Regions from separate parts of the Homo sapiens genome. Here region 2 is linked to region 1. Evidence: promoter capture Hi-C in 16 types of primary human blood cells and fetal thymus (Javierre and others, 2016). All regions are on one chromosome and are shown on one strand. The core of a region is centred on a gene start or on the middle of the fragment in contact, and the rest is flanking DNA. Distances in the headings are between cores, read along the strand shown. Region 1 holds the start of C9orf78 (chromosome 9 open reading frame 78). Region 2 holds the start of ENDOG (endonuclease G).

The links. The method cuts DNA at HindIII sites, captures the fragments that hold promoters and counts their contacts. A CHiCAGO score of 5 or more calls a contact.
Region 2: the fragment with the promoter of ENDOG here is called in contact with the fragment with the promoter of C9orf78 in region 1 in 5 of 17 cell types (fetal thymus, naive CD8 T cells, neutrophils and 2 more); the score reaches 9.0 in fetal thymus.

The regions. Positions count from the first base shown.
Region 1 is chr9:129,831,335-129,838,908 of GRCh38, forward strand. C9orf78 (chromosome 9 open reading frame 78) reads right to left here and starts at 3,941. Exons shown (of 9, transcript NM_016520.3): 1 at 3,805-3,941; 2 at 3,373-3,432; 3 at 2,324-2,375; 4 at 2,113-2,183; 5 at 562-639. The coding sequence starts at 3,887. It overlaps USP20 (ubiquitin specific peptidase 20), which reads left to right and starts at 4,124. Exons shown (of 26, transcript NM_001110303.4): 1 at 4,124-4,165. RefSeq lists silencers at 3,873-4,222, 4,253-4,402 and an enhancer at 4,374-4,874. The HindIII fragment of the contact is 4,419 bases long and covers 2,095-6,513 here.
Region 2 is chr9:128,813,044-128,820,617 of GRCh38, forward strand. ENDOG (endonuclease G) reads left to right here and starts at 5,457. Exons shown (of 3, transcript NM_004435.2): 1 at 5,457-6,142. The coding sequence starts at 5,642. KYAT1-SPOUT1 (KYAT1-SPOUT1 readthrough) reads right to left here. Exons shown (of 25, transcript NR_182311.1): 25 at 6,608-7,574. SPOUT1 (SPOUT domain containing methyltransferase 1) reads right to left here. Exons shown (of 12, transcript NM_016390.4): 12 at 6,608-7,574. RefSeq lists a silencer at 5,691-5,750 and enhancers at 5,855-6,420, 6,371-6,460. The HindIII fragment of the contact is 1,677 bases long and covers 5,244-6,920 here.

The sequences.
Region 1 (7,574 bases), core at 2,691-5,190:
CAAAATAAAAAGTGGGCAAGCCCATGTTTTATCCCTGCAATGTTTTGGGGAAATATTACTAGTCATGAAACCACCTTTGAAAACAAGTTTTTATTTTTTATATTTTGGAGACGGAGTTTCACTCTTGTTGCCCAGGCTGGAGTGCAATGGCGAGATCTTGGCTCGCCGCAAGCTCTGCCTCCCAGGTTCAAGCAATTCTCCTGCCTCAGCCTCCCGAGTAGCTGGGATTACAGGTGCCCACTACCACACCCAGCTAATTTTGTATTTTCAGTAGGGACGGGGTTTCTCCATGTTGGTCAGTCTGGTCTCGAACTCCCCACCTCAGATGATCCACCTGCCTCGGCCTCCCAAAGTGCTGGGACTACAGGTGAGAGCTACCGTGCCCGGCCTGAAAAGACCTTTTAAGAGGTTTTCAAAGTTCTTAAGCTGGGAAGTAGAAAGAGAGGGGCCAACTTTGACATCTTCTAGAAAATTCTAGAAATGTCATCTGTTGACTAAATATCTTGGACTCTGACTGGAGTCCAGCCCCAACTGCTCACAGCCAAACAGACTGACACTTACATGTCTGCATCCTCATCCCTTCGGTTGGTTTCTGCAGAAAACGATGTCCCCAGGTGCAGGTCCTCCTCCTCACTGATCCTGGAGGGAGAGAACAATGAGGCAGAGCTTTCAAGTCACAACTCAATGAGGCTGAGTTTTATGTTCTAAGAAGAAAACAAAGACATAAGCATTTATAATATCCTATTTACAGTTGGCAAAAAAAAAAAAATGCCGTAGTATATGTAAAGAAAAGAAACTCTAGAAATATATGCAAGCAAACTGTTGGCTGCTAGTGATACCTCCAAGGATTGAGTGGATACACTTATCCTTAGGTATCCATGGGGGATTGGTTCTAGTGTCCCTCAAGGATACCAAAATCTGCAGATAGTGAAGTCCCTTACATAAAATAGTATAATATCTGCATCTAACCTACACACACACTACCATCTGCTTTAAATCATCTCTAGATTACTTATAATACCAAATACAATGTAAATGCTATATAGTTGTCACAAAAGTACACAGTAAACTTTTATTTTTTTAATTTTTGAATTATTTGAATGTTTGATTTATTAATTTATTGAGACGGAGTCTCACTCTGTCACCCAGGCTGAAGTGCAGTGGCGCAATCTCAGCTCACTGCAACCTCTGCCTCCCGAGTTCAAGCAATTCTCCTGCCTCACCCTCCTGAGTAGCTGGGATTACGGGTGCCCACCACAATGCCCGGCTAACTTTTGTATTTTTAATAGCGACAGTGTTTCACCATGTTGGTCAGGCTGGTCTCGAACTCCTGACCTCAGGTAATCCGCCTGCCTCAGCCTCCTGAAGTGCTGGCATTACAGGCATGAGCCACCGCAGCTGGCCTGAATTTATTATTTTTGTTAATTGTTTTTATATGAAACTTCCCCATAGGTTCACTTATTTTATTTTTTTGAGACAGGGTCTTTCTCTGTCACCCAGGCTGGAGTGCAGTGGTGTGATCGCGGCTCACTCTAGCCTCAACCTCCCTGACTCAAGTGATTCTCCCACTTTAATTTCCTGAATAGCTGGGACTACAGGCACATGCCACCACACCCAGATATATACACACACATATATATATGCGTGTGTGTATATATATATATGTGTGTGTGTGTGTGTGTATATGTGTATATACATGTGTGTATATACATATGTGTATATGTGTGTACATATGTGTGTGTGTGTGTGTGTGTGTATACATACACACTTTTTTTTTTTTTTGTAGAGACAGGGGTCTCACTATGTTGCCCAGGCTGGTCTTAAACTCCTGGACTCAAGCTAACCTCAGCCTCCCAAAGTGTTGGGATTATAGGCATGAGTCATCACGCCTACAATACACTCTTACAAAAGGAGTCTACCAACTTGGCTCTAAGTTAACTTTTAAAGACTTTTTGCTTTCTTTGTTTTTAAATAACACACCCTTTGCAAAGCACAAAACCTGCTTCAAGATGTCCTACTAATGCTGCTGCTACAGGCCCCAGCTCTCTGAGGGAACCTAGACCCAGGCAGCCGCTAAAGGTGAATTTGCATCTAAGCTTGTCCTGAACTTACTTATCTTTGCCCCTTTCCTTCAGTTTCTTCATATCCACCATACCACCTGTCTTCATCTGAAAGGGATCATCCTGCAGAAAGCAAACACAGTTAAGAGGAAGCATCTAAATACATGGTAGTGGAATTTTTTTTTTTGTGAAGCACGCTCACTCACTGAAGAGCACTGCAGGGAGGGCTGCCATAACTACTCAGGGAAGACCCCATAACTTACCACTAGAGTGGTCTCCTCTTGTACCTTCTCTCCCACCAGCAAGGCCACAGCACTGAGCAAAACCAAAAAAAAAAGAGAGGGGGAGAGAGAGAAATGGCATAATTCAGAGATAAGGAGGAACCCTCTCAGGTATGCGGATTGCAACATTAGTGCAAGGGTGGGATTTGAGGGGTGGGTAGGCAAGCCGGCTGGAAAAGCCTATAAGCATAAGACAGGGCTCAACGAGCACCGCAGATGCTGGAAGAAGGGTGCGCTGGTGGTGAAGTGGTACACTTTGCCACTTTCCTGTAAAGCCATTTGGCATTATCTTGGCCTGGAAATCTCATTTCTAAGATATTCTCATCATGGAAAGTGCAGCTAAAGATAAATTTAAGAGAATATCCACTGCAGCCTTATTTGATAGTAAAAATTTACAAAATCACCTACATGTCCCAAAATAGGGGATTTGTTAACAAATTACAATACACACATCTGGTGGAATATTATGCAGCCATTAAGGCTTTCTGAAAAATATTCCACAATATGGGTGAATGCCCACAATGTCATAATGAGTTGAAAAGAACAGGGAATAAAAGTACATAGAAAGTTGTTCACAATCTGAGAGAGAGAGACGAAAAAAAACAGATTGGAAAGAGTATTCAATATTAATACCAGTGCATTCTTGGGTGGCTCTGCAAGGAAAAAAAATGTTAACACTGATCATTTCCGGATGGGAGAATTATGGGTGCTTTTTATCGTCTTGACTATACTTTTCTAAATTATACAAACTCTTAACGATCGATATGCATTTCACAATTAATTGGTTTTAATAAAAAACGCGAGTTAGTGATCTGTTTCTGTATCTCTGGAGCACACCCCGAGACGACACAGCTCAGGGCATGTCCTGGTTAAACATTTGCAAAGAACGCTGTTCTCCAAGTTGGGCAGTGGAAGGTGTACAGTGTGTCAAGAGAAAAATCTACGTCTGAGGAGATATTTGTGACAGCGACCCGGACGCGGATGTGTCTGTCGTCCCCGCCGCCTCCTCCTCCTCCCCGCGTGGTACCCACCTCACCCCGTTGGGCCTCTTCCTCAAGTTCTGTACCTCTCTGGTCTCTTCCAGTTTTAATCTTTAAAAAGAAGAAGAAGCAGCAATGCATAAGCTGAGTGATTCCCCGCGGAATCCAAAGCTAACAGAGCCAATAAGGCACCTTCGAGGGCATCCCAGCCCAGCTACTGAGCCACCAGCACAGTGGTCCAGAGGACGACCTTGTGCCTAGACCCACCGGGAGTCAGAGCCACTGCGCATCCCGGAGGCATCTCTCTCAACCGTTCGAGCTTGGGGCGGTGGCCTCACCCCTTGAGCCTCAATTTCTGCGTCCGCAGAAGGAACCACCACCCGAGCTCACAGTTAACAATGTCAGCGAAGCGCCGAGCCGGTGGTGAGTCCCCCAAACAAGTCTATCTTTACCAAGCCTATGGGAGCCCCGCCCCAAACGCACCGAACCTCCTCTGAGTCCTGCTCATCTTCCTCTGACTCCGAGTCGCCCCGGCGGCGACGGAAAATCTTCCGGACGACCGGCATGGTGACAACGGCCGAGTTGTACAGCCGCCGCGCCTCTGCGCAGCGGCCCAGGCTGCTTCCGGCGCGCGGCAGAGCGGTCAGAGCGCCTGCCCCGTCTGGCCCCGCCCCCGGCACGCACAGTCCGCGTGGCCACGCCCCCTCTCCTGGCGTCAGCCTCTTCCGATTGGACGGCAGAGGGAAGGAGGTGGGGCGTCGCCAGACGGCCCCACAACCCTGCGCGTCGCCTCAGAGGGGGCGCGCTTGACTGACAGGCGGCGGCGGCGCAGTTGCGAGTGCAGGTGAGTTCCGGGCCGCCACCGGCTGCTTCTGTGGGCCGGGCCTCTGAGCATTGGCGACCCCAGCCCGGCTCCGGGCTGACAGGGCCTGGCTTCGCCAGGTACGCCAGACGCAGCGGCCCGGTGAGCGGAGCCCGGGACCCCCCCGGCCGCCGCCGCCCCTCTCCCCTCCTCCGGTCGGCGCCCAGGGGGGCCTCTGGGCCCCAGCACCACCCCACTCTGAGCTCCCTGGGGGCTCGTGGCTTCTCCAGAACCGGGGCCGCCCCCCTCTCATTTCTGCCGGGGCCTGACCTAGCGTTGAAAGCATCCGCGTGGCGTCTCGCGTCTCGGGCGCTGACTTTTCTTTCCTCGGGCTCTGAGCCCTGACGTGCGTTTTTTTCTTTCGGAACAAAAGATGACCACTTCTCTGCGGTGCTGACTTAGAGTCCCAGCGCCGACTGCCTCACAAATAATGGCCCCCAGCTTCTCCGCGAGGAGAGGCGCGTCTGATGTTTTGAAGCCACGCAAGAGGGTTTGAGCCGGGGGACTCCTCCTCGGTGCTTGCCGGCCACCCCCCTGGACCTTCACGGGTCTGGTTTTCCTCCTTCGGCAGGTCTGTCGCTCTACCCTCTGCCCCTTCCACCCCGAAGATGCTGTGAGGATAAAGTTTATTTGAAAAACTGGTATCAGCAAACGCTTAGGAAATACCTAAATGCATAAATAATGGCTTCTAGGACTTTTAAGAACCCCTTAAGTAACAGTAGTTTTCCTTTTCTCAGTGTCATCCCTTACTTTGAGAACTACCTCTTATTAAGCAGTTACTATGTGGCAGGCCCTGGGCAAAGCATCATCTCATTGAATTCTCCCAGCAATCCTTTGAGGTAGATTGTTTTTCGTTTTACAAATGAGAATGCGGAGTCTCCGAGGGGCAGTGCACGCCTCAAGTTACCCAGCTAGGAGGTGGAACAGGAATTGGTTGCAGGTCAGTCTCTGCCGCACGGTTTGCACAGGGCCTGGCACGGTAGGAGTGCAGTAGATGTTTGCTGCTGCTGCAGCTGCTGTTACATCTCATTGGCTAGGGGGAGGGGCCGATGGGGGCTGTCTGGGGTTCCCCTTTCTGGAAGACCATTCCGAAGCAGGGCAGCATTTCTAGAATGCCTTACGTTTTCTCTGGAACAGTCTCCACTGAGATTGTTCTTCTCTTCCTTGGGCTGGAAAAAATAGTAGACTCGGGACTTCTTGCACCAGCGTTTTATCTTTGGTCAAAAGCCATATATTAAAGTCTCAAAGTCTTGCCCTCTGCAGACTGGTTCAGCCAAACCCAGATGCACGTGCACTCACTGGATACGGAGTCCCTGTCAGATGATGGAGAGGCTCCTTGGGAATTGCTGCAGGAGTCCAGGGGGTCAACGTCTGCAGCTCTCACGCTCTCAGAGGTGGCTCTGAATCTGCCCATCAAGCAGCCCATCCACCAGGGGGTACTGGACACTACTAAGGAAAGGGCAAGAAGGCCAGGGGCATTTCTGGACCCTCCTCCTCAGCTGAAGTCCCAGGGTACAGATGAGCTGCTCCCACCCTTGCTCCATGAGGCCAGAGGACCCAGTGATAACCACCACCTGTGCTGTGGCAGATCTAATTGAGTGCTCTTTAGCAAAAGGAATGCTGAAAAAGTGGCAGCTATGAATCTGGCAGTAAGTGGCTTTGCCAAGAGACTGCAGCCCAAGTCTCACTGGGCCCTTTTAAGCGTAGGATGAGACTGTCTCTCAAAAGGACCCTCCGAGAAATACAGGTTCTATGCAGTTCAAAGATGAATCCAAGGTCTTAGTCTTGTTTGGGAGTTCAGTTGTTTTAAGAAAATGTACAGATTCAACCTAGGTTTTGGTTGGTTTCCTAGCTCCTTTCTGGAGCCAGATGAAATGTTGGCTTGTTTCAGGGTTCAGGGAGCATTCATGTCCGATTGGATTTGGGATCCAGCAACGTGATACAGTTCACAGCCCAGCTATAGTCGGCATCCAATAAATGTATTTATTGGATCAATGTATTCAACAGATTCTTAGCATTTACTATATGAGCAGGCACTGTTCTAAGTGCTTGAAATAAGTCAGCAAAAGAGACAAAAGATCCCTGATTAGTTGAGTGTATGTTCTCACAGTAAAGTATGTAAAGTGTGTTAGAAGATGGTAAGTGCTGTGGAAAAGAAACAAATAGAGCAAAACAAGGGAATCACCTCCGGGAGGGTGGCAAGGTTGAGTTGCAAATTAAAATTAGCGCATTCTGGTTTGGGATTTGGTTGGAAACATGACAGATAAAGCAGTGGATTGAATGATAGGCCTTGGGTTCCAGTCACTGCCTGGTGGTTTTAGGGGTCTGTAAGCTTGAACTTTATTTTACAAAAGCTTTTATTTAGAGTGTACACCCTGAACTCAAGTCCTGATTGTGGGGTATTTAACAGTGATGAAAGAGCCAGGCTGTTCTTAGCCTTTTACCTTAGCAAGACAAACAGTATCCAACTGGTTCTCATTAGCATGAAGGAGGAAACTTGGAGAAGCCATGCACGTTGACAACAATTTTTTTTTTTTTTTTTGAGACGGAGTCTCACTCAGTTGCCTAGGCTGGAGTGCAGTGGTGCGATCTTGGCTCACTCCAACCTCCGCCTCCCAGGTTCAAGTGATTCTCCTGCCTCAGACTCCTGAGTAGCTGGGATTACAGGCGCCCACCACCACACCTGGCTAATTTATGTATTTTTAGTAGAGACGGGGTTTCACCATGTTGGCCAGGCTGGTCTCAAATTCCTAACCTTGAGTGATCCGCCCGCCTCAGCCTCCCAAAGTGCTGGGATTACAGGTGTGAGCCACTGTGCCCGGCTAACAACAAATATTTAAAGGCAGGAAAGTGGCAGTGCTCTTTGGCTCCAGTGAGCAGTCATGGCTCAATAAATAGAAATTTCAGGAGAGCCAATTTCCATTGATTATAAAGACTTAGGTTTGTAGCAACTAGAGCTGCCCTCTGGGAAAAGGGTGATTTTATCATCAACGACTGCTCAAACTGGGTTTGGAGAACAACCCAGTATGGCTTTTACAGAGCAGAGTTGTGCCTTAAGGGGAAGATGCATGGTTTCTAAACCCCTTTAAACTCTGAGATTGCATGGGGGAAGGCAGCTGCAGATCATGCTGCCTGAAAAGAGAGGATCTGATTTCAGGCCCCAGAAATCATGATTTTCCTAGTTCTTAGTTTCCGCATCTCTAATGTGAGTTTTTTCTAAGGTTTCTAGTCTGAGCTTCGAGACTGAGTTTCTGCTCATGCTTACTCACCACTGAGTGTGAGGCTTTTAATGACCTGGGCCAGTGACTGGCTGCAGCCTAGGGTAGCCCCAAACCCACGCCTTCTCCAATTAAGGGACTCTTCCGGACAGAGCTCAGAGCAAAGGGTAGTA
Region 2 (7,574 bases), core at 4,207-6,706, 1.0 Mb before region 1:
CAAAAGTTTAAAAAAATTAGAACATTTGTAGGCCAGGCACGGTGGCACGCCTGTAATCCCAGCACTTCGGGAGGCCTAGGTGGGCAGATCACGAGGTCAGGAGATGGAGACAATCCTGGCCAACATGGTGAAACCCCATCTCTACTAAAAATACAAAAGTTAGCTGGGTGTGGTGATGCCCGCCTCTATTCCCAGCTACTCGGGAGGCTGAGGCAGGAGAATCGCTTGAACCTGGGAGGCGGAGATTTCAGTGACCAGAGATGGCACCACTGTACTTCAGCTTGGTGACAGAGTGAGACTCTGTCTCAAAAAAAAAAATAAAATAAATAAAATAAAAATACAAAAATTAGCTAGGCGTGGTGGCAGGCACCTGTAATCCCAGCTACTCACTTGGAGACTGAGGCAGCAGAATCACTTGAACCTGGGAGGTGGAGGTTGCAGTGAGCTGAGATTGTGCCACTGCACTCTGGCCTGGGTAACAGAGTGAGACTCTGTCTCAAAATAAATAAATAAATAAATAAATAAATAAATAAAAACTCGTAAAGTAAAAGTTACAGTGGCTGGGCGCGGTGGCTCACACCTGTAATCCCAGCACTTTGGGAGCCCAAGGCGTGCAGATCACGAGTTCAGGAGATCGAGACCATCCTGGCTAACACAGTGAAACCCCGTCTCTACTAAAAATACAAAAAATTAGCCAGGTGTGGTGGCGGGCGCCTGTAGTCCCAGCTACTCGGGAGGCTGAGGCAGGAGAATGGCGTGAGCCCAGGAGGCGGAGCTTGCAGTGAGCCAAGATCGCGCCACTGCACTCCAGCCTGGGCAACAGAGCAAGATTCCGCCTAAAAAAAAAAAAAAAAGTAAAAGTTACAGTAAGCTAAGGTTTATTATTGAAGAAAGAAGTATTTCAAATAAATTTAGTGTAGCCTAAATATAGTGTTGATAAAGTCTACAGTAGCGTAGAGTAGACTTTGTTCTGGGCCTTCACATTCACTCCTCAGTGACCCACGCAGAGCAACTTCCTGTCCCAGAAGCTCCATTCATGGTAAGCGCTTTATACAGACAGGTGTATCATTCTTTATTTTTTATTATTATTACTTTTTTTTTTGAGACAAGAGTTTCTCTCTGTCACCCAGGCTTGAGTGCAGTGACACTACCTCGGCTCACTGCAACCTCTGCCTCCCGGGTTCAAGCAATTCTCCTGCCTCAGCCTCCCCAGTAGCTGGGAATACAGGTGTGTGCCACCACACCCGGCTAATTTTTGTATTTTTAGTATACACAGTGTTTCACCGTGTTGGCCAGGCTGGTCTTGAACTCCTGACATTGTGATCCACCTGCCTCGGCCTCCCAAAGTGCTGGGATTACAGGTGTGAGCCACCTAGCCTGGCATACTTTTTTTGGTTTGTTTTTTTTTTTGAGATAGAGTCTCGCTCTGTCGCCCAGGCTGGAGTGCAGTGGCACGATCTCAGCTCACTGCAACCTCAGCCTCCGGGGTACAAGGAATTCTCATGCCTCAGCATCCCAGGGTAGCTTGGATTACATATCTTTATGTGATGCATGATTATATTTGCAAACCATACATCTGATAAGGGGTTAATATCCAAGATATATAAGTACTTAAAACATCTCAGTAGCAGCTGGGCATGGTGGCTCATGCCTGTAATTCAAGCACTTTGGGAGGCGGAGGCGGGTGGATCACCTGAGGTCCGGAGTTCAAGACCAGCCTGGCCAATATGGTGAAACCCAGTCTCTACTAAAACTACAAAAATATTAGCCAGGAGTGGTGGTGGGTGCCTGTAATCCCAGCTACCCAGGAGGCTGAGGCACAAGAATCACTTGAACCCAGAGGCGGAGGTTGCAGTGAGCCGAGATCGTGCCACTGCACTCCAGCCTGGGTGACAGAGCAGGACTCTGTCTAAAAAACAAAAACAGAAACAAACAAAAATCTCAATAGCAAGAAAACAATGTGATTTAAACAACACGCAAAGGACCTGAATAGATATTTCTCAAAAGAAGACATACAGCACTTTGGGAGGCTGAGGCAGGCGAATCGCCAGGTGAAGAGATCAAGACCATCCTGGCCAACATGGTGAAACCCCGTCTCTACTAAAAATACAAAAATTAGATGGGCATAGTGGTGTGTGCTTGAACCCAGGAGGCGGAGGTTGCAGTGAGCCGAGATCGAGCCACTGCACTCCAGCCTGGTGACAGAGCCAGACTCTGTCTCAAAAAAAAATAAAAAAAGACATAAAAATTTCTGGCAACTATCTGAAAAAATGCTGAACAATGCATGGATCATCTGGGAAATGCAAATTAAAACCAAAATGAGATACCACCTCACACCTGTCAGAATGGCTTATAAAAAAAAGACAAGGCCGGGCGTGGTGGCTAACGCCTGTAATCCCAGCACTTTGGGAGGCTGAGGCAGGTGGATCACGAGGTCAGGAGTTCAAGACCAGTCTGGCCAACATAGTGAAACCCCATCTCTACTAAAAATACAACAAAATTAGCCGAGCGTGGTGGTGTGCACCTGTAATCCCAGCTACTCAGGAGGCTGAGGCAAGAGAATTGCGTCAACCTGGGAGGGGGAGGTTGCAGTGAGCCAAGATTGTGCCATTGCACTCCAGCCCAGGCAACAGTGCGAGATTCACCCTCAAAAAAAAAAGGAGATTCTGTCATTTGTGACAACATGGAAGAACCTAGAGGACGTTACGGTAGGTGAAATAAGCCAGGCACAGAAAGACAAACACGACATGGTTTCACTTATATTCGGAATGTAAAACAACTCATAGAGGTGGAGAGTAGAATGATGGTACCAGAGTCTGGGGATTGGTGGGAGTTGGGGCGGTGGGGAATGGGGAAATGTTGGTCAAAGGGTACAGTTTCAGCTAGACAGGAGGATTTTTTTTTTTTTAATTTGAGACGGGGGTCTTACTATGTTGCCCAGGCTGGTCTTGAACTCCTTGGTTCAAGCAATCCTCCCACCTTGGCCTCCAAAAGGGCTATGATTACAGGCCTAAGCCACCATACCCGGCCCAGGAATGTTTTTTTTTTAGAACTATAGCATGGTATGGCCAGGTGCGATGGCTCACACCTGTAATCCCAGCACTTTGGGAGACTGAGGTGGGTGGATCATCTGAGGTCGGGAGTTCGAGACCAGCCTGACCAGCATGGAGAAACCCTGTCTCTACTAAAAATACAAAAAATTAGCTGGGGATGGTGACACATGCCTGTAATCCCAGCTACTCGGGAGGCTGAGGCAGGAGAATCACTTGAACCTGGGAGGCAGAGGTTGTGGTGAGCCGAGATCACGCCATTGCACCCCAGCCTGGGCAACAAGAGCAAAACTCTGTCTCCAAAAAAAAAAAACACAAACTACAGCATGGTCACTATAGTTAATGTATATTTCAAAATTGCTGAAAGTAGCTGGGTATGGTGATACACCATAGCCTGTAGTCCCATTTACTCAGGAGGCTGAGGCCCACAGATCACTTGATCCCAGGAGGTCAAGAACAGCCTGGGCAACAAAGCAAGACCCTGTCCCATATTTTTTTTTGAAGCAGAGTCTCACTCTGTTGCCCAGGCTGGAGTGCAGTGGCATGATCTCGGCTCACTGCAACCTCCGCCCTCCAGGTTCAAGCAATCCTCTTGCCTCAGTCCCCCAGTAGGTGGGATTACAGGCACGGTCCACTATGCCCAGCTAATTTTTGTATTTTTAGTAGAGACAGGGTTTCGCCATGTTGGCCAGGCTGGTCTCAAACTACTGACCTCAGGAGGGCTTAGTGGCTCATGCCTGTAACTTTGGGAGGCCAAGGCAGGAGGATCACTGGAGGCCAGGAGTTCAAGACCAGCCTGGACAACATAGCGAGGCCCCATCTCTATAAAAAATTTAAAAGTTAGCCAGGCATCATGATATGTGTCTGTGGTCCTAGCTACTCGGGAGGGTGAGGCAGGAGGATGGCTTGAGCCCAGGAGGTCAAGGCTGCAGTGAACTGTGATCTTGCCACTGCACTCCGTGTGGGTGACAGCACAAGACCTTATTTTCCTTAAAGGAAAAAAAAATGCTAAGAGTGGCTGGGTTGGGTGGCCCATGTCTATAACCCCAGCACTTTGGGAGGCCAAGGTGGGTGGATCACAAGGTCAGGAGTTAGTTCGAGACCAGCCTGGCCAACATGGTGAAACCCATTCTTTACTAAAAGTACAAAAATTAGCTGGGCGTGGTGGCGCGCGCCTGTAGTCCCAGCTACTCAGGAGGCCGAGGCACGAGAATCGCTTGAACCAAGGAGGCGGAGGTTGCAGTGAGCCTGGGCGACAGAGCGAGACTCCGTCTCAAAAAAAAAAAAAAATTAGCTGGGCCTGGTGGTGCGCGCCTGTAATCCCAGCTACTTCAGAGGCTGAGGCAGGAGAATCACTTGAACCTGGGAGGCAGAGGTTCCACTGCGCGGAGATCACGCCATTGCACTCCAGCCTGGGCAATAGAGTGAGACTCCGTCTCAAAAAATAAAAGTCCTTAACCAGTCCATATTTCTGAATATTTTGCTTATTCCTGCCGGCAGTGTAATACTCTGGTGAATATTTGCGTTCGAGATCCTTGCATTCCCGAGATTTCCCCAGCTCAGCCCTCTGCGTGGGTTGAACGGTATGAACCTTTTTAAGGCTTCGCTTGTACTGTACTGTCAAGCTGTTTTTTGGAATATTCGCCCCAGGTTTCTGTTCCAGCCAGCAGCCAGCATCAGCCGTCTGCATCCTTGTCCTCAAACTGCTGTTAATTAAAATCTTTGCCAATCTGGGCCGGGCGCGGTGGCTCACGCCTGTAATGCCAACACTTTGGGAGGCCGAGGCCGGCGGATCGCCTGAGGTCGGGAGTTTGAGACCAGCCTGACCAACATGGAGAAACCCTGTCTCTACTAAAGATACAAAATTAGCCGGGCGTGGTGGCGCATGCCTGTAATCCCAGCTACTTGGGAGGCTGAAGCAGGAGAATCGCTTGAACCTGTGAGGCGGAGGTTGCAGTGAGCCGAGATCACGCCATTGCACTCGAGTCTGGGCGACCAGAGCGAAACTCCGTCTCAAAAAAAAAAAAAAAAAAAAAGAAACCTTTGCCAATCTGGTAGAATTGCGGGGCTTATTTTATGGTGTCATGGAGGATAGCCTAGGGCCAGATATACCTGGGGCCCTGTGCCTGCTCTGCGAACTAGGAGCTCACTCTCCGAGCGGTGTAGAGGGTGAGACTAAGCAGTGACAGTAAAAGCTTTCGACAGTGCTTGACCCTTCCGCGGAGCGTATTAAGCAGGAGCTCCCTGCGCAGGCGCAGAGGAGAGAGTGTCTCCCACCCCACGACCAGCAGGGGGCCTGCGAGGCGGGTGCGGAGCCAGGCCTGATGGTGGCCAATCGCGAGCTGAGGCGACGATGCCACGCCCCTCATACCGGCGTCTTAAATGCGCAAAGAAAGGACGCCGGGGACACCCGGTTGGGCTCTGCTGCTCCCTTCTGGGTTCCGAGGCCCAAGCCCTTGGCAGTGTTTGTGAGTGGAAGGGAGGTCACGCTATCGTCCGCGGCCCCAGCAGCCCTGTGCCCTCGTTGGATCCCGCGACGCGGCTCCTTTAAGAGCCTCGCGGGTCGCCCGCCGCTAGGTCGCTCCCCGGCCATGCGGGCGCTGCGGGCCGGCCTGACCCTGGCGTCGGGCGCGGGGCTGGGTGCGGTCGTCGAGGGCTGGCGGCGGCGGCGGGAGGACGCGCGGGCGGCGCCGGGACTGCTGGGCCGGCTGCCCGTGCTGCCCGTGGCGGCGGCAGCCGAGTTGCCCCCTGTGCCCGGGGGACCCCGCGGCCCGGGCGAGCTGGCCAAGTACGGGCTGCCGGGGCTGGCGCAGCTCAAGAGCCGCGAGTCGTACGTGCTGTGCTACGACCCGCGCACCCGCGGCGCGCTCTGGGTGGTGGAGCAGCTGCGACCCGAGCGTCTCCGCGGCGACGGCGACCGGCGCGAGTGCGACTTCCGCGAGGACGACTCGGTGCACGCGTACCACCGTGCCACCAACGCCGACTACCGCGGCAGTGGCTTCGACCGCGGTCACCTGGCCGCCGCCGCCAACCACCGCTGGAGCCAGAAGGCCATGGACGACACGTTCTACCTGAGCAACGTCGCGCCCCAGGTAGCGCCCGCGCCCCGGGCCGGTCGCGGAATGCGGGGCCGGCGCCTGGCCTCGCGGGGCCTCGGTTTGTTCTTCTGCAGAACGGGGCAGCTGCCCAACGCGCCCCCGGTCAGGCATCGCAGTGACATCCCGTGGCGGGAGGGAGGAGCACTGGGCTCCAGGCACAGGGTCTGCAGGCCGACCAGGGCTTGAGCTTCAACTGCGAACCCTGGGCACCTCCCTGAGCGTCGCTTTCCTCGTCAAAAAAATGGGGATAATACCGTTATTCACCTTCCTCCTGCGGTAGTGATGAGGCGCTGAGGCTCACAGAGGCAAAGTGACGGGCACAGTGTCACACAGCAGAAGAAGGCTGTCTGTTGTAGAACCGCAGCGCCCAACCTATTGGGCACCAGGGTGCGGTTTCGTGGAAGACAGTTTTTCCACGGCTTGGTGGGTGAGGGCGGGTTTCAGGATAATTCAAGTGCGTTACATTTATGTACATTTTATTTCTATTATTATTACATTGTAACATATAGTGAAATATACAACTCACAGTAATGTAGGATCCGTGGGAGCCCTGAGCTTGTTTTCCTGCAACTAGACAGTCCTATCTGGAGGTGATGGGCAACAACGACAGATCAGGCATTAGGTTTTCAAAAGAAGCGCGCAACCTCCTCACATGCGCAGTTCACCATAGGGTTCCAGCTCCTATGACAATCTCCAGCCGCCACTGATCTGACAGGAGGCGGAGCTCAGGCTGCTGTGGGATCAATGGGGGGGTGGCTGTAAATACAGATGAAGCTTCCCTTGCTCGCCTGCTGCTCACCTCCTGCTGTGTGGCCCGGTTCTGGTACCGGTCTGTAGCCCAGGGGTTGGGGACCCCTAGTCTATAAAACCGTGAGCCTCCAGACATTGTCCTACCCTGCCTGCCTTCAGGCAGTTTCGAGGCAGACACCTGGCCCACGATCAGGTTGTTAGTGCCAGGCACTGTGCACTGGGCCAACCACCCTCTCAGCCTGTTCCCAGCAGGTCCTGGCACCAATGGATGGAGACTGCCATGGGGCTCTGGGTGGAGCCCATGGGGCACCAACCTCTGACCCAGCTTCCTTCTGGGAAGACAGCCCCCTATCCACTTTCCATTGTCCCAGGCCTGGAGAGCTCAGGATGGAGGTCGATTCATGGCATTCCCCGCTAGGCTCTTCCTGTGGCTCAGACTGGGAAAAGGAACGGGTTGGTAGTTGGAAGGGCTGGTCTTCCCAGGAGACCCTGGGTGGGGCTGGGGACAGGCCTCAGTCCTCTCTGAAAGGTGGAGACAGGCTCTTCCTTCATTCGACTCTTGGGAGCTGAGAAAAGACTTTGACACCTGGGCTGTGGGAGGGACAGAGGGTGGTGGCTAGCACTCTATCAGCCCTGGGTTTCAGGGAGTGACTTTCATTCCTTGAGCCTCAGTTTC